Linked DNA regions of Homo sapiens: regions 1, 2, 3, 5 and 6 are each linked to region 4. Evidence: promoter capture Hi-C in human tissues and cell types (Jung and others, 2019). All regions are on one chromosome and are shown on one strand. Each heading gives the region's core, a stretch centred on a gene start or on the middle of the fragment in contact. The rest is flanking DNA. Distances are from core to core; before and after follow the strand shown. Region 1 overlaps DIS3L2 (DIS3 like 3'-5' exoribonuclease 2). Region 2 overlaps DIS3L2 (DIS3 like 3'-5' exoribonuclease 2). Region 3 overlaps DIS3L2 (DIS3 like 3'-5' exoribonuclease 2). Region 4 holds the start of DIS3L2 (DIS3 like 3'-5' exoribonuclease 2). Region 5 overlaps DIS3L2 (DIS3 like 3'-5' exoribonuclease 2). Region 6 overlaps PDE6D (phosphodiesterase 6D).

Region 1 (4,402 bases), core at 28-2,527, 200 kb after region 4:
TTCTTGATCAGTCAGGCTAGAAATTTATCTGTTTTTCTCTTTTCAAAGAATTAGCTTTTGAGCCAGGTGTGGTGGCTCAAAGCTGTAATCCCAGCACTTTGGGAGGCCGAGGTGGGCAGATTGCTTGAGCTCAGGAGTTCGAGTCCCAGCCTGGGCGACGTGGCAAAACCCCATCTCTACAAAAAATACAAAAATTAGATGGGCCTCAGCTACTCAGGAGGCTGAGGTGGGAGTATTGCTTGAGCCTGGGAAGTCGAGGCTGCAGTGGGCCATGATTGTGCCACTGCACTTCTGCCTGGGTGACAGAGTGAGACCCTGTCTAAAAAATAGAATTAGTTTTTTGTTTTATTGATTTGTTTTCATTATTCATTCATTTTTGTTTGTTTGTTTGTTTGTTTTTTTGAGACAGACTCTCACTCTGTTGCCCAGGCTGGAGTACAGTGGCGTGATCTCGGCTCACCGCAACCTCCGCCTCCCGGGTTCAAGCGTTTCTCCTGTCTAAGCCTCCAGAGTAGCTGGGACTGCGGGCATGCACCATCACGCCCAGCTAATTTTTGTATTTTTAGTGGAGACGGGGTTTCACCATGTTGACCAGGATGGTCTCAATCTCTTGACCTCATGATCCTCCTGCCTTGGCCTCCCAAAGTGCTGGGATTACAGGCGTGAGCCACCGCGCCCAGCCTATTTGTTCATTTTCTATTCATTGATTCTTGTTTCTTCATTATTTCTGTCCTTCTCCTTACCTGGAATCTAATTTGTTCTTCAGTTTTTTAACGTAGAAGCTTAGATCACTGATTTGACACTTTTCTTCCTTTCCGATGTGAGCATTTAATGCTGTAAATTACCCTCCAACCACTATTTTAGCTACTTCTCACAAATGTTGACATGTTATGTTTTCATTCAATTCAAAATTCCCTTCCTCCCTCTCTCCATTACTTCCTTTCCTTTCTTTTTTGAGATAGCATCTCGCTCTGTCGCCCAGCCTGCAGTGCAGTAATGCCATCTTGGCTCGCTGCAACCTCCATTTCCTGGATTTAAGTGATTCCTTTGCCTCAGCCACCCGAATAGCTGGAATTACAGGTGTGTACCACCACACCCAGCTAAGTTTTGTATTTTTAGTAGAAACGGGGTTTCACCACGTTGGCCAGGCTGGTCTCAAACTCCTAGCCTCAAGTGATCCACCCGCCTTGGCCTCCCAAAGTGATGGGATTACAGATGTGAGCCACCGTGCCTGACCCCAGTTCAATTTTTTTTTTTTTGGAGACAGTCTCACTCTGTCACCAGGTTGGAGTGCACTGGCATGATCTCGGCTCACCGCAACCTCTGACTCTCTGGTTCAAGGGATTCTCCTGCTTCAGTCTCCTGAGTAGCTGGGATTATAGGCACGCATCACCACGCCCAGCTAATTTTTGTATTTTTGATAGAGACGGGGTTTCACCATGTTGGCCAGGATGGTCTCGATCTCCTGACCTTGTGATCCGCCTGCCTCAGCCTCCCAAAGTGCTAGGATTACAGGCGTGAGCCACTGCACCTGGTCCAAAATATTTTCTAATTCTTTTTTTATTTCTTCTTTAACCTATGGGTTGTTGGATTTCCACATATTTGGGGATTTTCCAGATTGCTTTCTGTTAATTTTTCTCTCATATTTTTGCTGTCTGGCTTTTTGATGTGTTTTATGGGAGAGACCACCCATTTGTGGAGAAAGTACTCTTCTGAGTCCACATCATATGGGAGGAGCCCACAGGTCAGTCTGCAGGCTGCCGAGATCATAGGCTGGTGGGCGGGTGCACAAGTAGACTGGGCTGGTCTCTCTTGACTAGTGTGAGAAATGGGGCCAGCCCTGCTGCCATCACTGCTGCATTCCAGTGGCAAGGCTGAAGATTGGAATTTGTTAAAAGTCTGCTTATGAGGCAACCACCTCCCCTATTCCTCTTTACCACTGTGCACATAAGAACTCCAGCAGCCAAGCATCTACCCTTATTTAGGAAACAGAACCTTTTTCATAGAAATCGAATAGCCTGAGAGAATGTCCTGATGCCATAGCTAAATTTCTTGCAGAAAGTGCTGAGGGCGGACTCTTGGAGCACCCTGGTAGATAAGTAGACTTGTACAACAGAGGAGATGGCCATTTTTGGTCTCCGCAATACCCTCTACAAAGGCAGCCAAGGCCCATAACACATTTCCTGTTGGCTGCCTGTATTCAACGCACAAATTTAGACTTGTGATCTGTATGTGGCATGACAATGCTTATGAGAATAGAGAGCTGTCAATTTGGTAAGGAGTGAGATCTGCCTTCTGAAAGGTGGAACCCTGTTCATAATGTTAGCATTGTCCTGTTAAATGCAATTTTATTTTTAATGGGCCAGTGCCCTAAAATGTGCATGGGTGACTGGTTTATGGATAATTTTAATTTTCTTCTCAGTGGATTTTGTGTTTTCTAACTTCTTTGCAATGAACGTATATTACTTTTGTGTTTAGATAAAATATTTTAAAATTTTAAAGATTAAAAACTGGTAGAGTTGTGAAATAGGAACATCAGAATTAATCTAGTAAGCATGACTTAACGTACAGGCACTCTGAAACTAATGATTTAATAGCACACTGGATTGATCATAATATCAATTTTGACTTCTCTGTGAAGAACAATTGGAGGGGTCCTAAGGAAAGCCTTCTGGCTCTGTTTCTCAAGTCAGAATGTCAAATAAAAAAAGGTGAAATTACACTGTAGTTACCGATTTAACAGGAGAAGAGCATTACTGTGTCTTCTGCTTTCCCATTGCCAGTGATTTACGGATGATCATGTTTCTACTGGTGGAAGGGCAGGAGATTTTAAACTTTCCCACTACTTTACTTTTAGAGAGGAGACAGGTACCTATGTTCCATTTGTTTGCTAACCCAGTTATTCCGTTTCTGTTCTATCCATAGGCAGCTGGCTAAGAGTCTTGGGCAGGCTGGTGAAATTGAGCCTGAAACAGAAGGAATACTAACAGAGTATGGCGTGGATTTCTCTGATTTCTCTTCAGAAGTTCTAGAATGTCTTCCTCAAGGCCTGCCATGGACAATTCCACCAGAGGAGTTCAGCAAGAGAAGGGATTTAAGGTAAGCACCTGAAACCCTTTAAGAACGTATATCTCCCTTTCTGCCTTAACTTTCCTAGGGGCTAGGCTTAGATGTTTTCATCTTTCCACGAACATTCAAGTTCAGTTCAGTTGGGAATAGGTGCTTCTGTACCACAGTTGGCAAATTATGGCCCACAGGCTAAATCTAGCCTACTACCTGTTTATGTACAACCCATGAGCTAAGAATGGTTTTTACATTTTTAAATGGTTGGAAAAAATTAAAACAAGAATAATGTTTTATGAAAATTATATGAAATTCAGATTTCTGCGACCATAAAGTTGCATTGGAACATGGCCATGCTTATTCATTATCTATGTTGCTTATGGCTGTTTTTTGCCCTACAACAGCCCAGTTGATTAGTTGCAACCAAGACCATATGGCCTGCAAAGCCAAAAGTAGTTACTGTCAGCCTTTTACAGAAAAAGTTTACTGATCCCTGTTCTAGACCATTCTAACTTCAAAAGCTACAGTGCCTATCTTCTCATTGCCATAGATCTGGTCAAGTACAGACTGTTATCTAGTGAGAAGTGCCTTCCTTTAAATGGGCCTCTTCAGGCACAGAGCAAAGGATTCAAGACTTCTGTACTTGGAGCCTCATTTTAAAGCCTTACTTTTAGGTCTGGAATTTGTTGGAAAGTACTTTCGTGGTATTTTTATAACAACATCTTCTTTGAAGATGTTTCTTCATTGTGGGATGTTAGTTCTTTTCTGATATTTCTCTTCAGAATTTGGTTTCAGTACTGGCACTCATTTTGGATGCCACATGGAGATATTTAGAACCAAGAAACTTTTCATACAACCCACTGAGGCTGTGGAAGGTTTTTGCTAAGGTCATCCCATGTCAAAGTCTTTTCCACCACACTTGCTCGCTTCATGCAGCTGAACTTATGACACCTTCAGCTCTGGGTGCCTGTTACCCACCTAGTTTGTGAATACTCCCTCTCTGTACCTTCTTACTATTGTATCTTTTAGTAATTTACTGCCTTTTTCTTTTCTTATTGAGGTTAGGCAAGGAAAAGGAGATGATCATTAGTCCCCTTTCCTACTTGTTAGTATCTCTCATAGAACACATATTACATTTGAAGTCAGTTAACCCATATTGCATTGCTGGATTTTCATAATAACCCCTCTATCACTGAACCCCTGCTAGCACATGGGTGTGTTATCTCTTCAGGGGCTCCGAGGTCTTGGGCCCATAACATTAACCTCTCTGAACCTTTGTTTTCTCATATACAAATTGAGGGGTTTGTTTTCTGAGGTCATTTCCTGAATCTAGGAATCT
Region 2 (4,578 bases), core at 897-3,396, 220 kb after region 4:
ATGTTGGGCTGCCTTGCTAGATTGGGGAAGTTCTCCTGGATGATATCCTGCAGAGTGTTTTCCAACTTGGTTCCATTCTCCCCATCACTTTCAGAGTGACACCAATGAGACGTAGATTTGGTCCTTTCACATAGTCCCATATTTCTTGGAGGCTTTGCTTGTTTCTTTTTATTCTTTTTTCTCTAAACTTCCCTTCTCGCTTCATTTCATTCACTTCATCTTCCATCGCTGATAGCCTTTCTTCCAGTTGATCGCATCGGCCACCATGCCCGGCTATTTTTTTTAATTTTTTAATTTTTTAATTTTTTGAGACAATGTCTCACTCTGTCACTCATGCTGGAGTGCAGTGGTGCGATCTCAGCTCACTGCAACCTCCACCTCCTGGGTTCAAGTGATTCTCCTGTGTCAACCTCCAGATAGCTGGGATACAGGCGTGCATCATCACACCCAGCTAATTTTTGTTTGTTTGTTTGTTTGTTTTTTAGTAATGATGGGGTTTCACCATGTTGGCCAGGTTGGTCTCGAGCGCCTGACCTCAGGTGATCTGCCCACCTCAGCCTCCCAAAGTGCTGGGATTACAGGCGTGAGCCACCGTGCCCGGGCGCCTGGCTAATTTTTGTATTTATTTGTAGAAGTGAGGTTTCATCATGTCACCTAGGGTGGTCTCGAGCTCCTGGATTACAGGCATTAGCCACTGTACTTTTTATAAAGGCATTTACAGCTACTCCCTCCCTACTTCCCTGATTGCTTTAGCTACATCCCATAAATTTTCATAGGTTGTATTTTGTTTTCATTTATATCTAAATATTTTAAAATTTCCTTTGAGATTTCTTCTTTGACGTATTTTTTATTTAGGAGTAGGTTGTTTAATTTCTACATACTTGTGAATTTCTCTAATTTCTTTATGCTATTAATTTCTAATTCCATTCTATTTTGGTCAGAGAACATACTTTGCATGATTTTAGTCCTTGTATATTTATTGAAACTTGTTATATGGTGTGGAGAATGTTCCATATCCACTTTAGAAGAATATGTTTTCTGCTGTTGTTGGATGGAGTGAGTGTTCTGTAGATATCTGTTAGATCTAATTGATTTATAGTTTTGTTTAAGCTTTCTATTTTCTTGTTTATCTTTTGTTTATTTTTTATCTCTGTTACTGGATGTTGTGTATTGATATATATTACAGTTGAATTCTACATTTCTCCCTTAAGTTCTGCCATTTTTTGCTTTGTGTATTTTGTGGCTTTGTTGTTAGATGCATGTGTGTTTATAATTGTTTCATTTTCTAGATGGATTGAGCCTATCATTGTTATAAAATATTATCCTTTGTCTTTAGTAACACTTTTTGCCTTGAATTCTATTTTGTCTGCTATTAGTTTGGCTACTCCAGCTCTCTTTTGTTACTGTTTGCATGACACCTGCACATGCATACACACACAGGCACACACACACATACAATTAAATACTATTAAATAGTAATATAATGTGGCAGCTCTGGAAATCATCTTGCCTCCCTTCATTTCCAAGGTTTGCTGTTATTGCTGTTTGTTCTTTCTGCTGTTCATTTTCTGACTTTTTTGAACTAAGTCTTTTGAGTCTATGCTGTGATCTGAATGTCTGTGTTCCCTCTAAGTTCGTAGGTTGAAACTCTAACCCCCAAATTATAGTTTAGGAAGGCAGTTAAGTCAAGGGTAGAGCCCTCATGAACGGGATTAGTGCCCTTATAAAAAGAAGCATGAGAAAGAAACCTCACCCCTTTCACCATGTGAGAACATAGTAAAAAGGTGCCATTCATGAGGAAGTGGGCCTTCATCAGATATTGATTCTGCTAGTTTCTTGATCTTGGACTTTCCACTCTCCAAAACTGTGAGAAATAAACGTTATAAGCTACCCAATTTATAGTATTTTGTTATAGCAACTCAAACAAACAGAGACAGTTTGTATTCTTTGTTATTTGAAGCTACTGAAATCTCTGCTTGGCTAGCTTAGTGGTCACCTAATGAATAAACAGAGATTTCCTTAAATATTTGAAAACAGTAAGTCTCTTAGCGTTTGTTAAGAGGCTCTGTGTCGACTAATACCTTTAATGCTTAGGCATGCACTTTACAACTCTGCCATAGCCTTCACTTCCTGCTGTTGCAGAGCTTCAGGGTCAGCCAGAAGTAAGAGTGTAAGACCCTTCTTAAGTCTTTCTTGGGCATGTGCACAGCCCTATGCATGAGTGTGACCATCTTTATCCCCAGGAATGTGTCAGACCTTTTCACAGCCCTTTATAGATGCCTCATTCTCCAGCTTTTCCTTTTAATGTTTTTGGTCAGTTCTTGTTGACCAGTACTTTAGCTCACTGTTATCACCATCTCAGATAGCTGCCATGTTAAATAAATACTGCTGAATGTTTTTGATGAACACCCCTGGGGCTATAAGGCTGTTTGCAGTGAACAAGGTTTGATGAAGGTCAAATTAAGCAAACCCGGTAAATGGGGGTTTTCAGGGAACTGCTGGATAGGTCAAATAATGACATTTCTCCTGTGATGCTGTTTTTAGGGTGCTGTAAACCTGTTCTTGCCACTCCAGTGACTGCTAGGCCACTGGTTTTCACCACGATTACAATGCTGTTGATTTTAAGGCTGGAGAGAGAGATAGAGCTGGAAAGGGGGATGTGGGAATATGGAAAGTAAACTTTGTAAGTAAAACTTTACAAAGTTCAGTGTCCTTGTTGATATTTAGCCATTTTTCTTGAGTAATTGCATCTCAGATTGTTAAAAGCCTGTGGTTAATTTCCAGAGTTACACTAAATTTGATTTTGACAGTTTTGTCCAGTGTTGTTGTTACTTATATGAAGTAGTAGCTTTTCAGAGGAGGCCTCTACTTTGCGAGTCCCACTGATGTGACTCTCAAGTCTTTTCACTTTTATTGCTTGAGTTGGAGATAAAAGAAGACAGTGTCCTGCAGAAAAGCTACAAGCTTTCCTGGGAAAATAACAGAAAGAGTGAAAGGAAGATAGAATTTGAAAATAAGGTCGGGTGCGTGGCTCATACCTGTAATCCCAGTACTTTGGGAGGTCCAGTACTTTGGGTGGATTGATTGAGTCCAGGAGTTCCAGACTAGCCTGGGCAACACAGCAAAACCCCATCTGTACAAAAATTACAAAAATTAGCTGGGCGTGGTGGCATGTGCCTGTAGTCCCACTACTAGGGAGGCTGAGGTGAGATAATCACTTGAGCCCAGGAGGTTGAGGGTGCAGTGAGCTGTGATCGCGCCACTGCACTCCAGCCTGGGAAACAGAACAAGACACTATCTCAAAAAAAGAAAGAAAAAGAAAAGAAGCATATAGTAGTCAGTAATTGTGTGGGCAAATTATTCCTAAGATTAGTAGTGTTGGGTAGCCTGACATTCGTATTAGGGCAGGTCAAAAATGAAATGGTCAACTCTGTTGATAATAGGAAAAGAGGAAAATAAATTTCTTAGCTTCTTATACAATATCCTGTTCTGCTTTCAGCCCTTCATCTTTCCTCAGTCTTGCTCTGTCATAGTTCTCTGTCTTACCTATGCCTTGCATTGTACTTCATCCATTTTCCAGGGCCCGTCTTGAATGCTGTGAATTTTTTGTCTTCTCACTCTAGAAGAATTAGCCTTGCCCTTCTCTGTTCTCCCGAGGCAGTCTGCTCACTTGCCATAATGTACCTAATTTACTTAAATATGACTCTGTCTCTCTGATGGGTAGCAAAGTTCTCATCAAGAGCAAGGACTGGGTGTTACTTTTCTGTTTCTAGGTGCTAACTCAGTACATGGCATCCAGACCCAAATAAAGTGATCATGGAATATTCACCAAGATAGACCATATCTTGAGTCATCAAACAAACTTCAGCTCATGTGAAAATGAAGTCATATAGGGTATGTTTTCTGACCATATGGAACTACAAACTAGAAATCCATAACAGGACAATAGTAAAATATCTAGACACTTGGAAATTAAACAACACACTTATAAATAATTCACTGGTTAAAGAGGAAATCTTAAAGGAAATTTTTAAAAAATATGTAGAACTGAATGAAAATGAAAGCACAACATATTAAAATATGTGAGATGTCGCTAAAGCAGTACCGAGGAAAATTTATAGCTCCAAGTGCTTACATTAAAAAGAAAAAAGATCTCAGCAGTGAGCTATGTTTTTACCTTAGGAATTTAGATAAAGAAGAGCAAGGCTGGGCATGGTGGCTTATGCCTGTAATCCCAGCACTTTGGAAGGCCTAGGCGGGTGGATCACTTGAGGCCAGGAGTTAGAGACCTGCCTGACCAACATGGTGAAACCTCGTCTCTACTAAAAAAATAAAAACAAAAAACCCCAAAATTAGCTGAGTGTGGTGGCTTGTGCCAGTAGTCCCAGCTACTCAGGAGGGTAAAGCAGGAGAATTGCTTGAACCTGGGAGGTAGAGGTTGCAGTGAGCCAAGATTGTGCCACTGCACTCCAGTCTGGGCAACAGAGTGAGACTTCGTCTCAAAAAAAAAAAAAAAAAGCACGATATGCCCAAAGTAAGCAGGAAGGAAGAAAATATAAAGATAAGCACTTAAGTCAA
Region 3 (4,673 bases), core at 63-2,562, 140 kb after region 4:
TAATTCTCATTACATTAGTTAATCCTTAGAACATACCTAGTATAGTGTCTATTTTAGGAATATAAATAGTATCTATCTCAGGAATTCCAGTAGTTTTTATTCCCAAGATGCAGAAAAGTTATGCAGTTGGTAAGTATACTTTAAGATCATTCTAATTGATCTGGAATAGGGCTAAGCATTGGTATTTTGAAAGAGCTCTTTAGAGATTCAAGGATTCTGCTACATACTCAGCATTGCTGCTGTAGAATCAGCCCTAGGCTTGTCCTCCCAACTATTACATTCTTTCTCCCCTAATAAATAGCAATATATACAATACAGGTTAAACATTCATAGTTCTCTAACCCTGAGTTTAATAATTCAATCAAGAATCATTGCTGGATACTAAAACTATTGAGATAAAGGTTTTGGGGACCAAGATATTCACATGGACTCAAAGTATCATGCCACAGTTGACTTACTAATTAATTACACTGGGCAGAATGTCCTTTTATAGTGGACATATTTGGTGGTCACCAGTTTAACCAACTGATCAAGCTTAGCATCATTAATTGGGATAGTCTGACATTTTGTACCTTCTGATGGGATGCATTATTGAATATCATTGTCTGTGAAGCATTCATGCTAAAAATGTTTCACCGGAATCAAGCCTCTAGCCCTAACTTCCAGTCTACTGGAAATACAGGGGATATTGGAATAAGTTAAATGACACCAAGGGAGAAATAATAAGATTAAATCCAATGCCATGAAAAGCAAGGGGAGTTGTTCTAGTGAAACAAAAAGCAAGAGAGACATAACTAAAAATATTGTGTGAAGCTTGGTTAGAACCTGGGTTGGGGAAATAATATGGTAGCAACAATTGGGGAGATTTAAATTTAGAGTGGATATTAGGTGACATTTTGGAATTACCATTAATTTTCTTAGGTGCGATAATGATATTGCAGAGATATAGGAGAATGTCCTTATTTTTAGGAGATACTGGCTAACATGGTTGGGGTGAAGTATCCTGATGTCTTTAATTTATTTTGAATGGTTCAGAAAAAAGAAGAAACGAAACTATGTGGTTGTGTGTGTGTGCAAACACACGTGCATATACAAATCAAGAGAGAATGGGTGCAAATGTAGCAATATGTTAATTGGTGAATCAATAGGTGTTCATAATATCACTGTTTCAGCTTTTTAGTAAATTTAAAAATCTTTAAAATAAAACATTGGGTGAAAGAGAAAAATTGCTATGTTCTACAGTTCGGTGTGGATTTCAAGAGCTGGCATTGCTCATCCCATCTTTGGCCCTGAAGTAACTCTAAAGCATAAAATAATAATTGCTTATTCAATACAAATATAGTCAGGACTGCTGTTTTCAGCTGGGTCTTTTTTCTAAAAATTACTTTTATTCGGCCAGTCACAATTTTATTTCCCATTAAAAATGCCAGTGTGTCACACAAGGTGGTAGTAAAATAAAAATCTTGAGTAAAGATTTTTAACTTATTTGAGTTAACAGTGGATTAAGAGAAATTCTTGTGAAAATTAATGAAGCCTTCAAGTAATTTTGTAAACATGATTGTTTTTATGAACCTCCTGTAAAAGTCAAACAGAATGACTTTTGTAAAAGTGAAACGTTCATTTGCTTGAATGTTCTGATTATTTCTAATAATTTTGTAGTTGGTTGTTTTGATTTTCTAGGTGTAAAATAATTTTGTCTTTTCCTTTCTAATTTTGTACCTTTTATTTATTACCTTATTTCATTGGCCATTACTTTAAGAACTGTGTTGCATAATAGTGGTGATTGTCTTGTTCCAGACTTTAATGGGAATGCTTCCAATATTAAACCCTCAAGCACAATGCTGGTTATTGGCTTGAGACCAAGTTAACCAAATGTCCTCTTTTATATTAAAAGTTTCTGTTGGGAATAGATATTGAATTCTCCTCAAGTGCCTTTTGAGCCTCTTTCAAGATGCTGTTTTTCCCTTTGGCTTGTTAACATGATGACATATAATATTGAATAATTCTTGCATTCCTCATCTGACCATGACCTTCATTTAGTCATGGTATGTAGCATGCATTAACATGTAATTCAGTTGTGTTTGCTAATTTATTCATGATTTTTGGATTTACAATAAAAAGTGACATTAGTCTGCAGTTTCTTCTTGTTTTCGTAACTTGGTAGGAAGAATTGGGGAGCTTTTCTCATTGCCTTGGAATAGTTACAATAGCGTTGAGAGTGATCACATATTCTCAATGATTGAAGCAATTGAAGAACTCATACTTGAAACATGGGCTAGAGCTTTCTTTAGTTGGCAACTTTCTCAATCTCCGGTGATTATTGATTTCTTTAAATTTTCTTTGCATGTATTTTGATAATTATATTTTCCAGGAAAATAATACATTTTGAGCACATACTGTAATGTATTAGAATAGAGCTATATGAAGTATTTTCAGTTGTTTAGTTTCATCTGTATCTGTGATCATAACCCCTTTCAGGTCCCCCCCCACCACCTTTTTTTAACACTAGCTAGTGACTTAATCTGTTTAATTTTTAATGGAAATAGATTTCTGCCATTTTTGTTTATTATAAATAATTTCTACTGTTTTTATTACCAAGGAATTTCTTTTAGATATGGTAAATGTGAGATGGTCATATTTAATTAGAAATACAGACTGAAGTTCATGATAGAGGTCTGTGAACTGGAAATGCAGTTTCATGAGTCATTACTGTCAAATTAATTCCTTGAGTAACTCCTGGATTCTGAGAGTTCTTTTAAGAGACTGTCAGAGGACGAGGGCCTACCTGTTCTCTTTTCCTGCCACCTGGCTTTCCCTCCCTGACGCAGCAGGTATTGTTTATCAAACTGTCCCCTGCCCTGGAGTCTCTATAACACACAGAAACTTTTGTGGGTTAAATTTGTTTTTTATTGTGGTAAAAAAAAATTTGCCATTTTAGCAATTTTTAAGTGTACAATTCAATGTCATTAATTACATTTTCTGTGTTGTGCAACCACTACCACTATTTCCCAAACCTTTTCATCATCCCAAACAGAAGCTCTGTAACCAATAACCATCCACTCCTCATTTCTCCCCCAACCCCTGATAACTACAAATCTACTTCCTCTCTATAAATTTTCCTATTCTAGAGATTTCATATAAGTGGAATCATACAATATTCTTTTGTGTCTGGCTTTTTTCACTTAGCACAATGTTTTCAAGGCACATATATGTTGTAGTGTGTATCAGAACATCCTATTCTGTGGCTGAATAATATTCCATTATATTGTATATACTGAATTCTGGTATTTTTGCTTGTTTGTTTTTTGCTTTTGAGACAAAGACTCAGAGGGTCTGGCTGTGTTCCCCAGGCTGGAGTGCAGTGGTGTGATCTCGGCTCACTGCAACCTCTGCCTCCTGGGCTCAAGCCATCCTCCCACCTAAGCCTCCTGGAGTAGCTGGGACTACAGGTGGCACCACCACACCCAGCTAATTTTTGTATTTTTTGTAGAGATGGGGTTTCACTATGTTGCCCAGGTTGGTCTCAAACTCTTGAGATCAAGTGGTCCGCCTGCCCTGGCCCCCCAAAGTGCTGGGATTACAGATGTGAGCCACCATGCCCAGCCACACATTTTGTTTATCCATCCATGTTGATGAACACTTGAATTATTTCTACCTTTGGCTATTGAATAGTGAATAATGCTGAAATGAACATTGGTGTACAACTATCCGTTTGAGTCACTGTTTTCAATTCTTTTTATACCTAAGTCATATAGGAGTAGAATTGCTGGGTCATAGGGTAATTCTGTGTTTAGCTTTATGAGGATTGTGAGGTTTTTAAAAGAGGGATTTTTGTTGGTTATTAAATACTTGGTTATTAGGGGGGTTAACAGAAACTGAAAATGTTGATGTATTATAGAAAATCTTGAAATAATAATGATTACATCTGTTCTTTATTCAAATATAACTGGAGCTTGCCCAGCTCTTTTTCAGGCTTTTCCTTTTCACTTCTTTCTCTTCCCATTTTTTAAAATCCTGGAGTCATTCCTACCTACTTGCCTAGTTTCTCTTTGACACATCAACAGACCTAGGCAGCTTGGGTTTCAGAACATTTTTCTAACATTACAAAGGACTTATTTTATAGAATATACTCTGCCCCACTCTGCCTCTTCCAGCTAGCAAGAAACATCAGCCTTGCTAACACTTTTAGCACAAAATTGTTGGGATGGAAACCTAAATGAAAGGAAATAATGTCTCACAAATGTTCATCCTGTTATCTGGAAACAGGGATTCCCAGGCTCCCAACATGTCAGTCGCTATGTGTGCCTGTCCTTCTCCTTTGTTGGAGGTGAGTGAAGACTTGAAGGCCCCTGTGCCTATCATCCCCATGGCTTTTCCGGCACCTTTTCCAATATGGTGTTCCTGACTCTCTTGCTTGCTCTGCAGTTTTAGCTTTATACTAGGCTCCCTGGGCTTTTTTATAATTCATTTTCCTTGGGTTTACTGGTAATGAAAAGGGTCTCTGAGTAATGGTATCATTTTTTCCTTACTTCCTTTTCCATGCTCTCTAGATTCTAGCCACTTTTGGACTCTTTCTTCCCAGTCCATCTACTGATCCCACTCTGTGTTACTTTCCAGATCAGTCCAGTCCATGCTCATGACAAGGTATTGACTCAGGGCCATATCTATTTACA
Region 4 (4,230 bases), core at 1,170-3,669:
ACAAAGGCAGGCAGCACACTTTGACAAACGACCAATCAAAATGAGATTTGTCCGTTGAACTTAAGGAAAATAATGGTCTCAGCCCTACTTCCTCTGCTCTTGTCCTTGATTCTCTATTCCTACTTTTAATTATTTTTGGTTTCCTTGGCTTCACCTCCTATTTCTAGTCCTGAAATCTCAGGTTTTCTTTTTATTTTTTTATTTTTTGAGACGGAGTCTTGCTCTGTCTCCCAGGCTGGAGTGCAGTAGCCCGATCTAGGCTCACTGCAACCTCCACCTCCCAGGTTCAAGCAGTTCTCCTGCCTCAGCCTCCCGAGTAGCTGAGGCTACAGGCCCCCACCACCATGCCTGGCTAATTTTTTGTATTTTTAGTAGAGACAGGTTTTCACCATGTTGGCCAGGCTGGTCTCGAACTCCTGACCTCAAGTGATCAGCCCGCCTTGGCCTCCCAAAGTGCTGGGATTATAGTCATGAGCCACTGCATCCGGCCACAGATTTTATTTCAATCCTTTGTTCTCTTCCTCTTCTAGGTCTTCCCCTTCCTGTCCCCACTGGCCCCTCTCCTATCCACTGAATCCCTGGATGCCTGACACCCTCTGCCTCCTGTCCTTGCTGGGTTTCCTCTACCCTCTACATTTCAAAGACAAGTTTTGCTGAAATCACAGTTTTCCTGAGGGTTCTAGAAAGGTCTGTGTGAACATTAAAAAACAAAGGTTCCTTGGGTTCATTTAGTCTTTAAGCAAACATCGATTGAGGCCTGTGTGTGTGGCAGGTACTGCAGATGCAAAGTTTTCCACCTTCATGGAGCTCATAGTTACTAAGGGAAACCCTGAATTTTCTTAGACTACTGCAACGCACTGGCCGGGTGCGGTGACTCACACCTGTAATCCCAGCACTTTGGGACAAGATGGGCGGAAGAGTGAGACCATCCTGGCTAACACGGTGAAACCCCGTCTCTACTAAAAATACAAAAATTAGCCGAGAGTGGTGGCACGCGCCTGTAGTCCCAGCTACTCGGGACTGAGGCAGGAGAACTGCTTGAACCCAGGAGGCGGAGGTTGCAGTGAGCCGAGATCGCACCATTGCACTCCAGCCTGGGCGACAGAGCGATAGTCCGTCTCAAAAAAAAAAAAAAAAAAAAAAAGAGAAATATAGGCACAATTTAATGCATCTCTTTTCCTTTTTCAATATGGAGCATACGGTGGTTCAAGCATCTGTCCACATTGTATTCCCGAAGTTTGATCCCTACCCTGCCCTGCCCTCCCGTCTTTCCTTCCCTCTCTCTTTTTTTTTTTCTGGAGTGCAATGGTGCGATCTCGGCTCACTGCAACCTCCGCCTCCGGGGTTAAAGCGATTCACCAGCCTCAGCCTCCTGAGTAGCTGGGATTACAGGCATGTGCCACCACGTCTGGCTAATTTATTATTTTTAATAGGGACGGGGTTTCTCCATGTTGATCAGGCTGGTCTCGAACTCCCGACCTCAGGTGATCCGCCCGCCTCGGCCTCCCAAAGGGAAGTTTGATTTTTCTATGGTCACCAATGGACACTTGATCTCCATAGCTTGAGAATGGCGGCCATCCCCTCACTGGCATTCTTTCCTCTTGTGCTCTCCCGAACGTTCTGGCTGCTCTTTGGATTTCCTTTTCCTTTGCTCACATCTACAATATTGGTGTTTCCTAGGTCCCGTACTTAACGATTGTTTCCTCTCAACACGCTTCCCTGGGCGGGCTGAACTGTCGGGGGCTTTCTCGGCTGCGCTTCCTCTCTCACCTGAAACCCTCTTCCCAACCCTTTATACTAGGTCGACGTCTCCAACATCAGCTGCTCCCCACCCGTGTCTGGGTGGGCCCCTTGGGCAGGCTCCCCTAGTCTCCTTTCCTTCGATCATCCCCACGTGCAGGACGTCATCTGCTTGCTCTGCCATCAGCCTCACATCCTGAGGGCAGGGACCATGCGGGGGTTGTCCATCTCTGTATCCCCAGTGCCAGCACTGCACCTCGCCCCAAGCAGTTGTCCAATAAATGAGCAGTGAGTAAATGAAAGAATGAGCAAAGCCTTGTAACAGGAAAGGGGCCGGCGGCGTCTGCCGTGCAAGACCTGGCCCAGTGGAGCAGAGCCTGGAGGTTCAGGAGCCGGGTCTGGAAGGCTCCTTCCGGTGGAAGAGGGGCCCGGAGCCAGCCGGCGCCTGGCACAAGGCGTCTCAGAGGCCGCCCACTGGGAGCCAACCGTTGCAGCCAGTTGTCCCCGCGAGCGAGGCCGGAGAAGGCGCGGCGGCCCCTGGCCTGGCCATTTCGCCCTTGTCGCAGCTGAACCGCCGACTACGAGCTCCTGCACCGCGCACACACCCCGCGCGCTTCGCTCTCGGCCTCGCCCGGCCACCGTCGCTCTCTAGAACGCCGCGCCCGTGACCCGGAAGAGCATTCTCCTTAGCAACTGCGGGACTGCGGCGGCGCCGGCCTCCGGGGAGAAACGGTGAGGCCCTCACTCGCCTGCCCCCTGCACCGCCTAGTGCTGCACGACCCCCTCGGGACCGACCCGGGGTCTGGCCTCTGGGGGGCTCCGCGGCGCTTCGCCCGGCACCTGTGGTGGCGGCCCGGGACGAGCGTCTTCCGCCTCTGGCGTTGCTCCCCGGCCCACGCGTCTTCCCTGTCCCGCATCTCCCTCAATGTCCCCAGCTCCCCACTCTCCGCTCCTGACCGACCCGGCCTCCCAGGCCGCGCTTATAGCGCCGGGGCCCTTGTAGCCTAGGATGGCGTGAGGGGAGCGAGACCAGAATTAGAGCCTGTTGCTGTAGAGAGGACGCCTCCCGAGGCTCGGGTCACCTGTGGACGCGTTCTCTAGGGTCTTGATCGAGATGTTCAGGACTGGCAGGGATGGGGAGCCTCGGGAATCTTGAAGGGCAGCCGCTTAATTATAACATGTCCTTGACGTTTGCGCTTTCCACAGTGATACACTTTATCTCCTTTATTGATCATAGAGAGTTTTTTTTTTTAATAAACTTTTAGATATGGGGGATACGCATGCAGGTTAGTCACATGGGTATATTGCACCCAGGTATTGAGCATAGAACCCAGTAGGTAGTTTTTCAACCCACATCCCCCATCTCTCCCCTCCTTCCAGTAGTCTACAGTGTCTACCGTTACCTTTTTTTTTTTTTTTTGAGACGGAGTCTCATTCTGTCGCCCAGGCTGGAGTGCAGTGGCGCGATTCGGCTCACTGCAAGCTCCGCCTCCTGGGTTCATGCCATTCTTCTGCCTCAGCCTCCCGAGTAGCTGGGACTACAGGCGCCCGCCACCCCGCCCGGCTAATTTTTTTGTATTTTTAGTAGAGACGGGGTTTCACCATGTTAGTCAGGATGGTCTCGATCTCTTGACCTCGTGATCCGCCCGCCTTGGCCTCCCAAAGTGCTAGGATTACAGGCGTGAGCCACCGCACCCGGCCGACTGTTCCCATGTTTATGTCCATGTGCGCTCAATGTTTCTACTCCCACTTGTAAGTGTGCTCAATGTTTAGCTCCCACTTATAAGTGAGAACGTGTGGTGTTTAGTTTTCTGTTCTTGTGCTAATTCGTTTAGGATTATGGCCTCCAGCTCCATCTGTGCTGCTGTAAAGGACATGATATCTTCCTTTTTTGTGGCTGCATAGTATTCCATCCTGTACATCCACATTTTTTTTTTCCAGTCCACCATTGATGGTCACCTAGGTTGATTCCGTGTGTTTGCTATTGTGAATAGCTCAGCCGTGAACATACAACTGCATATGTCTTTTTGGTATAATGGTCTGTTTTCCTTTGGTTATATACCCAACAGTGGGATTGCTGGGTGAAATGGTGGCTCTTTAAGTTCTTTGAGAAATCTCCAAACTGCTTTCCACAGTGGCTGAACTAATTTACATTCCCACCAACAGTAGTTTAAATGTTCCCTTTCCAAGGGAGCCTAATGAGGATCTGTTGTTTTTTGACTTTTTGATAATAGCCATTCTGACTGGTGTGAGATGGTATTTCATTGTGGTTTTGATTGGCATTTCTCTGATAATTAGTCATGATCATGTTTTCCATATATTTGTTGGCTGCTTGTATGTCGTGGTTTTTTCTTTTTGTATTTCTTCTGAGAAGTGTTCATGTCCTTTGGCCATTTTTAAAAATGGGCTTATTTGTTTTTTGCTTGTTGATTTAAGTTCCATAGGGATTCTGGATATTGGACCTTTGTCAGATGCATAGTTTGTGAATAT
Region 5 (4,754 bases), core at 1,388-3,887, 170 kb after region 4:
GAGGACAGAGCTTGATACTCCATCAATATTCAGGATGCTCACTGGGTTGACTCCAGCATTTCAGGAGGTCCCATGCCATTTAAATAATATCTTGATACAGGTTTTCATGGCTCTTTTCATAGTGCCCAGTTCTTGCTAGTGTGGAGAACAGGTCACCACTGTCAACACCAGCATCCTGCATGCTGTCATTCACTGGCTCCCCCTCTTCACTACTCCTCTTTCCTCAGTGAAGCTGGAATAACAGTACCCACTTTACCCATAGTATAAGTTGTAAGTTAAAAGAGGTAATATAGGCGAGCATGCTGTGAAAATTCTTTGGCATCATACATTTTCATTAGCTCTATATCAGAGTGAAATTTGCTTAGGCCTAGGGATTTTGTGAAGAAAGGAGCTTATTGGTGCTCCTGAAGACTGTCCCTCCCAAGTCTTGCCTTGACAGGAGCTAGATGTGGGGTCCTAGAATGATCATAAGCACTCGTTAGCCCAGCAAGCTTGCAGCATCACAAATGATTATTCACAGTGTATGTTACCTTGCCCCTGTGAGGACTTGTGTTTTCATTTCTACATTTCACTGAAGAGAGGGGGGCCCATAAGATAAGTTTTCCTAGTTGGTTTTGAGAGATCCAGAAGGGACATATTTTCATTTACAAATACATACTGCATTCTTTTCATTGAACTCTTTGGAAATTGTAAATTTCTGTGGCCCTCCATTCAGAGATTGAACAAGCTTGGATTTGTCAGCTTTGGACTTAAATCACTGCCATTATCTTAATTTGGGTTCTGATTGTGTCTCACCTAGATTCTAACCTCAGCTTTCTAAGATCTCTGCTACCATTGTCTCTTCATTCCAGGGTTCTATCAAATTCATAGCTCTAAAATACATGTGTGATATATAGCTCTTAAGAGAAGAATTGCCCTGGCATTTATAATGCTTTATAGGATAGTGTCCTAGCTTGTCAGTTTCATTGTCTGGGCCTGTATGTTAGAAAGTATATTCCGTAGAGAATAGCATTAAATCCTAAAATATCAGTGGCTTAAACAAGAAAGAAGTTAATTTCTATCTCACGTAGAAGAAGATCAGAGACAGGCAGGCCAAGACTTGTAGGATAGCTCCACAGTCTTCAGCTCATTCTGTTGTACTGCTCTGCAGAGTAGAAAACACCCTTGACCTCTGGCCTCCAGGACCAGGATGAGCGATCAAGGTCCAGCTATCAAATCCACATTCCAGCCCGCAGGATTGAGAAGAGAGAGAAGGCTGGGCCTCTGCCTTGTAAGGTTACTCCTGGAAGTCACTAACAACACACTTTCCCCAGAATCTTGTTGCCTAAAATGTAGACATGCAGGGATGTGGCTGAGGGATGTGGCCTTTTAACTAGGTGGCAGTATGCCCAGCTAAAAATTGGAGTTCTTTTTACTAGGAAAGAAGAGGCTGGATAATTGGGCAGTGACTAGTCCCTCCCACAGGGCCATTCTACCAGCGTTATTTCCCCCCTATTCTAGTTCCTCCCTACCCAGCACTGTGTCCCCAACCTGTTAATAGCTACAGTAAATCTTTTACTGGGCCTTTACCATGGCAGGTCCACTCACAGATCTAGGTCTTTCACAAGTTCTGGCCTTTGTCTGGAGTGGCCTTCAACTTCCTTATTTCTCTTTGGAACATCTATATCTATATATCCTTCAAGGCTCAACTCACTTCCTCAGTGAATTTTCTTCATTAACAGTGACAGAACATTATCCCTTACTTTTGTGTATAGCAGTGTGGTGCACTGGAAGAGTTTCATGGATTTAGGGGTTGCATGGACTTGCATTTCAATATCCTCTCTCCAGCTTGGGCTGGAAAGTTTCTCAGCATATAAACTGTTTGTAAAGCTACAGCCCAGGTCTGTTTTCTGAGTTCCAGACCTTCATTTTGAATTGCTTACTCAGTTTCTTCACTTAAAAGTCTCATATGTGACCTATCAAATAGAACCACCTCCGAAATAGAATTATTGATCTTTACCCCTTCCTCTTGTCTTTCCTGTGCCATAAGTGATGCCACTATCAACCTAATTGCTAGTGTCAGAAAGCTGGAAATAATCCTTGACTTCTCTTAGCTGATAATCCTTAAGCTCTCATATGTAATTATCACCAAGACTATTCAACTCCAAAATATATCTTAATTCCATCTCCAATGCCTGCATCACAGCTCCAGCCTCTCATGCCTTGACTATTGCAGTAGCTTTTAACTGGTCTCCCTACACCCACTCTTAGCCTGCTCTTATCTTGCCCTGGGCAATGTTGCTGTCTTGCACAGAATCCTTACCCATCTTGCCGTTGTACTTAAATTCTGGCTTCTTATGTTCTGCAAGGCCCACACCTGACTTGGCACCTATCTACCTCTCATTCTCATCTCTAGCCATGCCCATTCTTGCTCACTGTGCTCCAGCCATGCCTCATGGTCTTTGTTCTGGTCCTTGATTGTGTGAAGAACTTCCTGCCTTTACCCTTTCCTGTGTGCCATTCCTATCTTGGGTCTCTCATTCTCCTCTTCACTCCTGTATACACTGTCCTTATGTCTCAATTTAAATTCTTTCCCTGATCTCTAATCTAAATCATATGTCCTTTCCCCCTTCTTTTTGGGATTATTCTTTCCTTCTTAGCATTTATTACAGTTTTTATTTTTTTTGAGACAGGGGCTCACTGCGTCGCCAAGGCTGGAGTGCGGTGGCACGATCCTGATTCACTGCAGCCTCCACTTCCTGGGCTCAAGTGATCCTCCCACGTGAACCTCTCAGGTAGCTGGGACCACAGGTGTACACCATCACACCTGGTGGATTTTTTTTTTGTATTTTTTGTAGAGACAGGGTTTTGCCATGTTGCCCAGGCTGATCTTGAACTCCTGGGTTGAAGTGATCCTCCCACTTCAGCCTCCTGAAGTGCTGGGATTACAGGCGTGAGCCAACATGCCCACCCTATAATTTTATATTTATTGAGTGATTATTTATATGATATTCCCACATTAGTCTATAGGGCTGGGATCATATTTCTTTTAACACTGGATCTTCAGTGCATTAATGTGTTCAATAAATACACATGGAATAAATGAATAATAACTGATCTTGTGATTAAACAATGTAGTAGAGTCTCATTAAATTGACAACTTTGCTAATTTTTTTTTTTTTTTTTTTTTTTTTTTTGGAGAGACAGGTTCTTGCAGGCTGGAGTGCAGTGGTGCAATCTTGGCTCACTGCAGCCTTGAATTCCCAGGCTCAGGTGATCTTCCCACCTCAGCCTCCTGAGTAGCTGGGACTATAGGCGAGCACTACCATGCCCAACTAAATTTTATATTTTTAGTAGAGACAGAGTTTCGCCGTGTTGCCCAGGCTGGTCTTGAACTCCAAAGCTCTAGTGATCCTTCTGCCCTGGCCTCCCAAAGCACTGGGATTACAGGCATGAGCCACCCAAGACCAGCCGACAACTTTACTATTCAGTGTGGCAAGACATGGTTGTTGGAAATGTATTAAGGTGATTCACCTTTTCAACCTGGCATTGTGTTTCTTTATATCCATTGACTGTTATCTGTGATTCTCACCTGTAAGGCTTTAAACCTTGGTTTAATTTATTAGAATGTAACTTTGTCTGAACAAAGCCTCATTTCTGCCAGGATATCCTTCTGAATATAGAACCTGAAAAGGTCATGTTCAGGTCTGATAGAAAATCATGATTGGGCCCACTTCTATGGCTTGCCCTCTCTCTTAAGATGTAATTTGGTATAACATTTTGAACAGCCGACTTGCTGTTGTTGGGATGGAATCTGAGGTAACAGTCATTTGAAGATGGAGCCATCAGTGATCATCACAGAAAGCTGTTTGCCCAGGATTTAGGCTGCCTTGGAAACCCAGTCCTCTCACTGCAGTGTCTTGATTGGTAGCATTTGAGACCAAACTAGTTGTCAAATATCTAAGTAGAGGATACTTATTCATGGTAATTCCACGCTTTGATTTTTTTCCTCAGTTACTTTGTTCTGCAGAGCACATTGGTGAGGTATGTTATGGAACAAACAGATCAACAACTTGTGTGGTTTTTTTTCTCTCTACAATTATAAAAAATGTTCTAAAAGCATTTGATGATTTTGGAATCCTGAATTATGGGTTTAAAAGAAAAGTTGAACCTTGCTGATGTCCTCTTTCACTGATAGAGAGGGCAATCTACGATAGGAAAGTTTGTGTTTGCTTTTACTTTTTGGAAAACAATGAGGATTCTGCATTCAGAGGGCACTTCAGTAGGTAGATTTCAGCATAGATGGAAAAGCAAACAGTTGATCATTCTTAAACCCCGGTAGGTCAGATCATGTCAGTGTTTCCAGAGTACGCCCAGAATGGTAAAAGTTGGCTTTAAGCTGAGTTTTTGCTAAAAGGCAGCCAGTCCTGAAAAGGATTGATTTATTTACTTTGGCCTTGGCAACATCTAAATGATGATAAGTGCAAGTTTCTCTTAGCTCTCTGGAGAGGCTCCCACGTAAATTGGTTGTGACCCCTAGAATCCAGAATCCCTAACATAGTTGGATAAGAATATTTTGTGGGGAAATCTAATGTAACAAGTAAAGATTCAAAATTTTAAATGTTTAGAAGTGTGTAATTTGCTGCTTTTGTTCATGAGTGTTTTTAATACTTCTGGTAGAGAGCCTAACTGCCTCTTTCCTCAGGAGATGTGGTTTCAGTTTCTTGGGTGAATGTGCGTTTTGTAAGTTTTTTAAGAAAGGAAATTAAACATTA
Region 6 (4,645 bases), core at 1,561-4,060, 190 kb before region 4:
AGCACCAGCCTGGATGACAATGAGACCCTGTCGCAGAAAAGAAAAAAAGAATCCTAAGATAATCAATAGGACATTATATTCATTTAATCCATTCAGGATAACAATACAAACTCTCAAGAGTCCATGCATGAGGAAACAAGCTACCAATCACAATCTACATGAAACTGGGCTTTATGAGTGGTATGTCTGGTTGCTTTCCAAGACTTTGGGTTGTCAGACAAAACCTATATTATGGGAAATAATAAACCTCAAATTCATTTTTAACATTTGGCCAAGGCAACTGTACCAGGGAATACTGACTTTCAAGAGAAGTTCTACAGTCGACTTTTCTTAATATGTCTACTATTCTTATTCTTTATTCTAAGTGAGTAAATAGAAGATGTAAAGCCAACTGTTTTTTGATTGGAAGCAAAGTCAAGGATTAAGGTACTATGAGAAAGAAGATACAGGGATTCCAGGACCAAACTATGGGAGAAGAAATGTAAGAAAACAAGTGAAAGATGCTTTCAGAAACCTTCTGAGCCCAAACTCTTTTTGCTAACCTGCCATAAATTAGAATGAGATTCATTTTCTAGACAAGATAAACATGAGGTATATATCAATGCTTATTGAATCATTTATTCAGAGGCAAAATGGAAATACGATAGTTTTTCAGTAAGAAAATATAACTAGAATGAAGGCATTAGTTATATCTCAGAGAAATAAGTAGCTTTACAATCATATTAACACTATTGTCATTATTATTATTATTATTATTGAGATGGAGTCTCACTCTGTTACCCAGGCTGGAGTGCACTGGCGTGATCTCGGCTCACTGCAACCTCCACCTCCTGGGTTCAAGCAATTCTCCTGCCTCAGCCTCCCGAGTAGCTGGGATTACAGGTGCACACCACTACGCCTGACTAATTTTGTATTTTTAGTAGAGACGGGATTTCACCATGTTGGCCAGGCTGGTCTTGAATGCCCAAACTCAGGTGATCCACCCACCTCGGCCTCCCAAAGAGCTGGGATTACAGGCATGAACCACTATACCTGGCCTGTCATTATTATTAGTAATTATTAATAAAATGAATGGCAGCAGATATTACTATATGCCAGGCCCTGAACCAAACATCTTTTATGCAGTTTCATTTAATTCTCAAAACAACCCTCTGATAATATGAGATACAGATGCTGAGGCTCAGAGTCTGAGTGTTCTGTTGAGAGTCACAATAGCAGAGGCAGTAAGTCTAAACCTTGGAAGTGAGCCCATACTCTCAACCACTGTGCTATATACTCTACTGCAGTAATGTGTAAACATTTGATAGATACCAATTACTTTCTACAGACACTACACACACACACATAAACCAAATGAGAGTGCCCCTTTCCCTCAATGTTGTGAACACTGAATATTATCTTTTTTTTTTTTTGAGACTGAGTCTCTCTCTGTCACCCAGGCTGGAGTGCAGTGGTGCAATCTCGGCTCATTGCAACCTTGGCCTCCCAGGTTCAAGTGATTCTTCTGCCTCAGGCACCCTAATAATAGCTGGGATTACAGCTGTCCACACCATGCCCAGCTAATTTTTGTATTTTTAGTAGAGACGGGGTTTCACCATGTTGGCCAGGCTGGCCTCGAATCCCTGACCTCAAGTAATCCGCCCACCTTGGCCTCCCAAAGTGCTGGCATTACAGGCATGAGCCACTGTGCCTGGCATCTTTTTTTTTTTTAATAAATTTTTATTTTTATTTTTTTTGAGACAGAGTCTCACTCTGTAGCCCAGGCTGGAGTGCAGTGGTGTGATCTCAGCTCACTGCAACCTCTGCCTCCTGGGTTCAAGCAATTGTCCTGCCTCTGCCTCTTGAGCAGCTGGGATTACAGGCGTGTGCCACCAAGTTTGGCTAATTTTTTGTATTTTTAATAGAGAGGGAGTTTTGCTATGTTGGGCAGGCTGGTCTCAAACTCTTGGCCTCAAGTGATCTGCCCACCTTGGTCTCCCAAAGTGTTGGGATTACAGGCGTGAACCACTGTGCCTGGCCTAATTTTTAATTTTATTTTCGTACAGTGCCACTTTCAGGATATACATATATATTATCAATCTTTTAAATCTGTGTCAATTAATTGGGAAGAGATAGTCCATTATTATTATTATTGACAGGGTCTCACTCTGTTACCCTGGTTGGAATGCAGTGGGGCACAGTCTTGGCTCACTGCGACCTCCACCTCCCAGGCTCAGGTGATCCCCTCACCTCAGCCTCCCAGTAGCTGGGACCACAAGCATGCACCACCACACCTGGCTAATTTTTGTGTGTGTTTTTTTTTTTTTTTTGTAGAGGCGGGGTCTTGCCATGTTGCCTAGGCTGGTCTCAAACTTCTAGGCTCAAGCAATCCACCCACCTTGGCCTCCCAAAGTGCTGGGATTACAGGCATGAGCCCCTGCACCCGGAAGATAGTCTATTATTTTAACAAGGTTGAGCATGTCCTCATTTATTCATTGGTCATCTGCTTTTTCTTCTAGGAACTGCTTGTTCATATCCTTTGTCCACTTTGAGTTAAATGCTTATCCTATTGATTTGTAGGCAGCCATTTATATTCTGGATATTATAATATCTGACGTATAAATGAATTAAATAAATAAATGGAGACAATAAGCCAATATTAAAAAAAAGCTACATTACTACTCTGTATCTTATACCAAAGAAAATTCAGATGGATTAAAGATAATGAAATCATAAAAGCATAATTCATTCTTATGGAAGTCTGTCAGTTTCTTGTTAATTTAATAAAGTTATATTTTTATGTTGATGAAAAAGCTATTCAAATAGGCAAAACAGTAGATACAGACTATACTAGAAAGCTAGTATAAGAGTACTGTGACAAATGCTAGGTGCAGTGGCTCACGCCTGTAATCCCAGCACTTTGGGAGGCCTGAGGTCAGGAGTTCGAGACCAGCCTGGCCAACATGGCGAAACCCCCTCTCTACTAAAAATACAAAAATTAGCCGGGCGTGGTGGCAGGTGCCTGTAATCCCAGCTACTTGGGAGGCTGAGGCAGGAGAATCGCTTGAACTCCGGAGGTAGAGGTTGCAGTGAGTTGAGATCACATCACTGCACTCCAGCCGGGGTGACAAGAGCAAGACTCCGTCTCAAAAAAAAAAAAAAAAAAAAAAGAGTACTGTGACAAATCTGTCAGTGAAAGCAACTGAAAGTAACTATCTTTGGAAATCATAAACATGGTAAATCTATTATTAAGTGAACAAAGTAAGTTACAAAGTGATATTTACAATTCCATTTTTATAAAAAACACATTAAACATTAGCTACATTAGAAGGCTATATTAAATAATATTTACAAAGGTCACTCTAGGTGGCTGGCGTTTGTAATAGGAAAATTAAATAGAATTTTAAAAAATGCATTGCTTTTGAAGATATTCCTTCTAAACAGACATAAAGCTGGTTAAGCTTCTGGAAAGAAGGGACTGTAAGTTATTCATTTTTGTATCCTTCAAGTGTAGAGTGCCCTATACATAATAGTCACCCAACAGACCTTTGTTGAAGGAACGAAATGGGAAACGTGGGATTTACAAACATCAATCTCTATGTCAGCTGCTTAAAATAATCAAATCCAAAATATTTGCAGGAGAATCATATTGTTCCCCAAGTAACATTTCATTCATAACATTAATTTACAATTAGGAAATGTTATGCTTTTAACAAACAAGAAAGAAATGCAAGGTTCTTAATGTGTATGAGAGCCTTGCATTTCTTGAGAGGTAGTATAGCGCCACAGTCCAGTATAGCTCTTAACCACTATGCTATATTACCTTGTATGGATCTAGGGATCCAGGAAAATACAAATCGAAACAATGTGTTGTCCAAACTGGCAAAAATAAAAAAGATTGACCTAGTCAACGTGGAAAACTGAGTACTATCAACACTGTTGGCAGGAGATCATAATGGTGCTCTTTTTGTAGTGATAAACTCTTCTCACAAAAACAGATACTCTGAAAGAGGTAGGGTGAGATGGGGTGAAGGTGATACAAGAATAAAATCTTATAAGATTTTGTTTTTGAAACAACTGATGGCAAATACAAAGCTTCTACTGAATTCACTCAGACCATGCCTAATTTATGCATACAGTATTCACTTTTATGCAGTATCTTTAAATTTTTTTTTTTTAGAGTTGGGGGTCTCGCTATGTTGGCCAGGTTGGTCTTGAACTCCTGGCCTTGAGCAATCCTCCCACCTAGGCCTCCCAAAGTGCTGGGATTACAGGTGTGAGTCACCATGCCCAGCCAAGTCCTCATGTTTCTATCTACTATGGGCATATGGGCAAGCTTCCATGTGAACAAAAGGGGCACATATTTGTAGGGACCTTAAACACACATATTATGTTAGTCACAGACCATTCTATTGTAAACTATACTAAATCATATTATAAAGCTATAATAATTCAATCAAATGTGTATAGGTACAAGAAGAGACAAATAGATCAATGAAACAGAAATAATCCAAAAAAAAACCTATGTCTTATGAAAATTTAGTATATGACAAGGATGGCATTTCAAAACAGTGAGGAAAAGATGGACTAACTACTTAGTAAATAGTACTGGAACTATTGGCTATCCAAACAGCAGAAGTACTTAGATGTCTACCACATACCAAAT

Evidence for each region. The method cuts DNA at HindIII sites, captures the fragments that hold promoters and counts their contacts. A contact is called where the count stands out against the background at its distance.
Region 1: a contact is called between a fragment that was not itself captured here and the fragment with the promoter of DIS3L2 in region 4, in 5 of the 25 tissues and cell types used here (IMR-90 fibroblasts, dorsolateral prefrontal cortex, liver and 2 more).
Region 2: a contact is called between a fragment that was not itself captured here and the fragment with the promoter of DIS3L2 in region 4, in 4 of the 25 tissues and cell types used here (IMR-90 fibroblasts, liver, mesenchymal stem cells and 1 more).
Region 3: a fragment that was not itself captured here is called in contact with the fragment with the promoter of DIS3L2 in region 4 in 2 of the 25 tissues and cell types used here (IMR-90 fibroblasts and mesenchymal stem cells).
Region 5: a contact is called between a fragment that was not itself captured here and the fragment with the promoter of DIS3L2 in region 4, in 1 of the 25 tissues and cell types used here (IMR-90 fibroblasts).
Region 6: a contact is called between a fragment that was not itself captured here and the fragment with the promoter of DIS3L2 in region 4, in 1 of the 25 tissues and cell types used here (spleen).

The regions. Positions count from the first base shown.
Region 1 is chr2:232,160,534-232,164,935 of GRCh38, forward strand. DIS3L2 (DIS3 like 3'-5' exoribonuclease 2) reads left to right here. Exons shown (of 21, transcript NM_152383.5): 9 at 2,926-3,099. Among named protein-coding and RNA genes, the nearest start is that of MIR562, 9.9 kb to the right of the region's middle. The HindIII fragment of the contact is 8,631 bases long and covers 1-4,402 here.
Region 2 is chr2:232,181,349-232,185,926 of GRCh38, forward strand. The region is part of intron 9 of DIS3L2 (DIS3 like 3'-5' exoribonuclease 2); the gene reads left to right. Among named protein-coding and RNA genes, the nearest start is that of MIR562, 11 kb to the left of the region's middle. The HindIII fragment of the contact is 3,458 bases long and covers 418-3,875 here.
Region 3 is chr2:232,101,513-232,106,185 of GRCh38, forward strand. The region is part of intron 6 of DIS3L2 (DIS3 like 3'-5' exoribonuclease 2); the gene reads left to right. Among named protein-coding and RNA genes, the nearest start is that of MIR562, 69 kb to the right of the region's middle. The HindIII fragment of the contact is 5,354 bases long and covers 1-3,989 here.
Region 4 is chr2:231,959,294-231,963,523 of GRCh38, forward strand. DIS3L2 (DIS3 like 3'-5' exoribonuclease 2) reads left to right here and starts at 2,420. Exons shown (of 21, transcript NM_152383.5): 1 at 2,420-2,472. RefSeq lists an enhancer at 2,298-2,387 and a silencer at 2,518-2,677. The HindIII fragment of the contact is 18,963 bases long and covers 1-4,230 here.
Region 5 is chr2:232,125,304-232,130,057 of GRCh38, forward strand. All of the region lies in intron 6 of DIS3L2 (DIS3 like 3'-5' exoribonuclease 2), which reads left to right. Among named protein-coding and RNA genes, the nearest start is that of MIR562, 45 kb to the right of the region's middle. The HindIII fragment of the contact is 8,059 bases long and covers 1-4,754 here.
Region 6 is chr2:231,773,195-231,777,839 of GRCh38, forward strand. The region is part of intron 1 of PDE6D (phosphodiesterase 6D); the gene reads right to left. Among named protein-coding and RNA genes, the nearest start is that of PDE6D, 5.8 kb to the right of the region's middle. The HindIII fragment of the contact is 7,341 bases long and covers 1-4,645 here.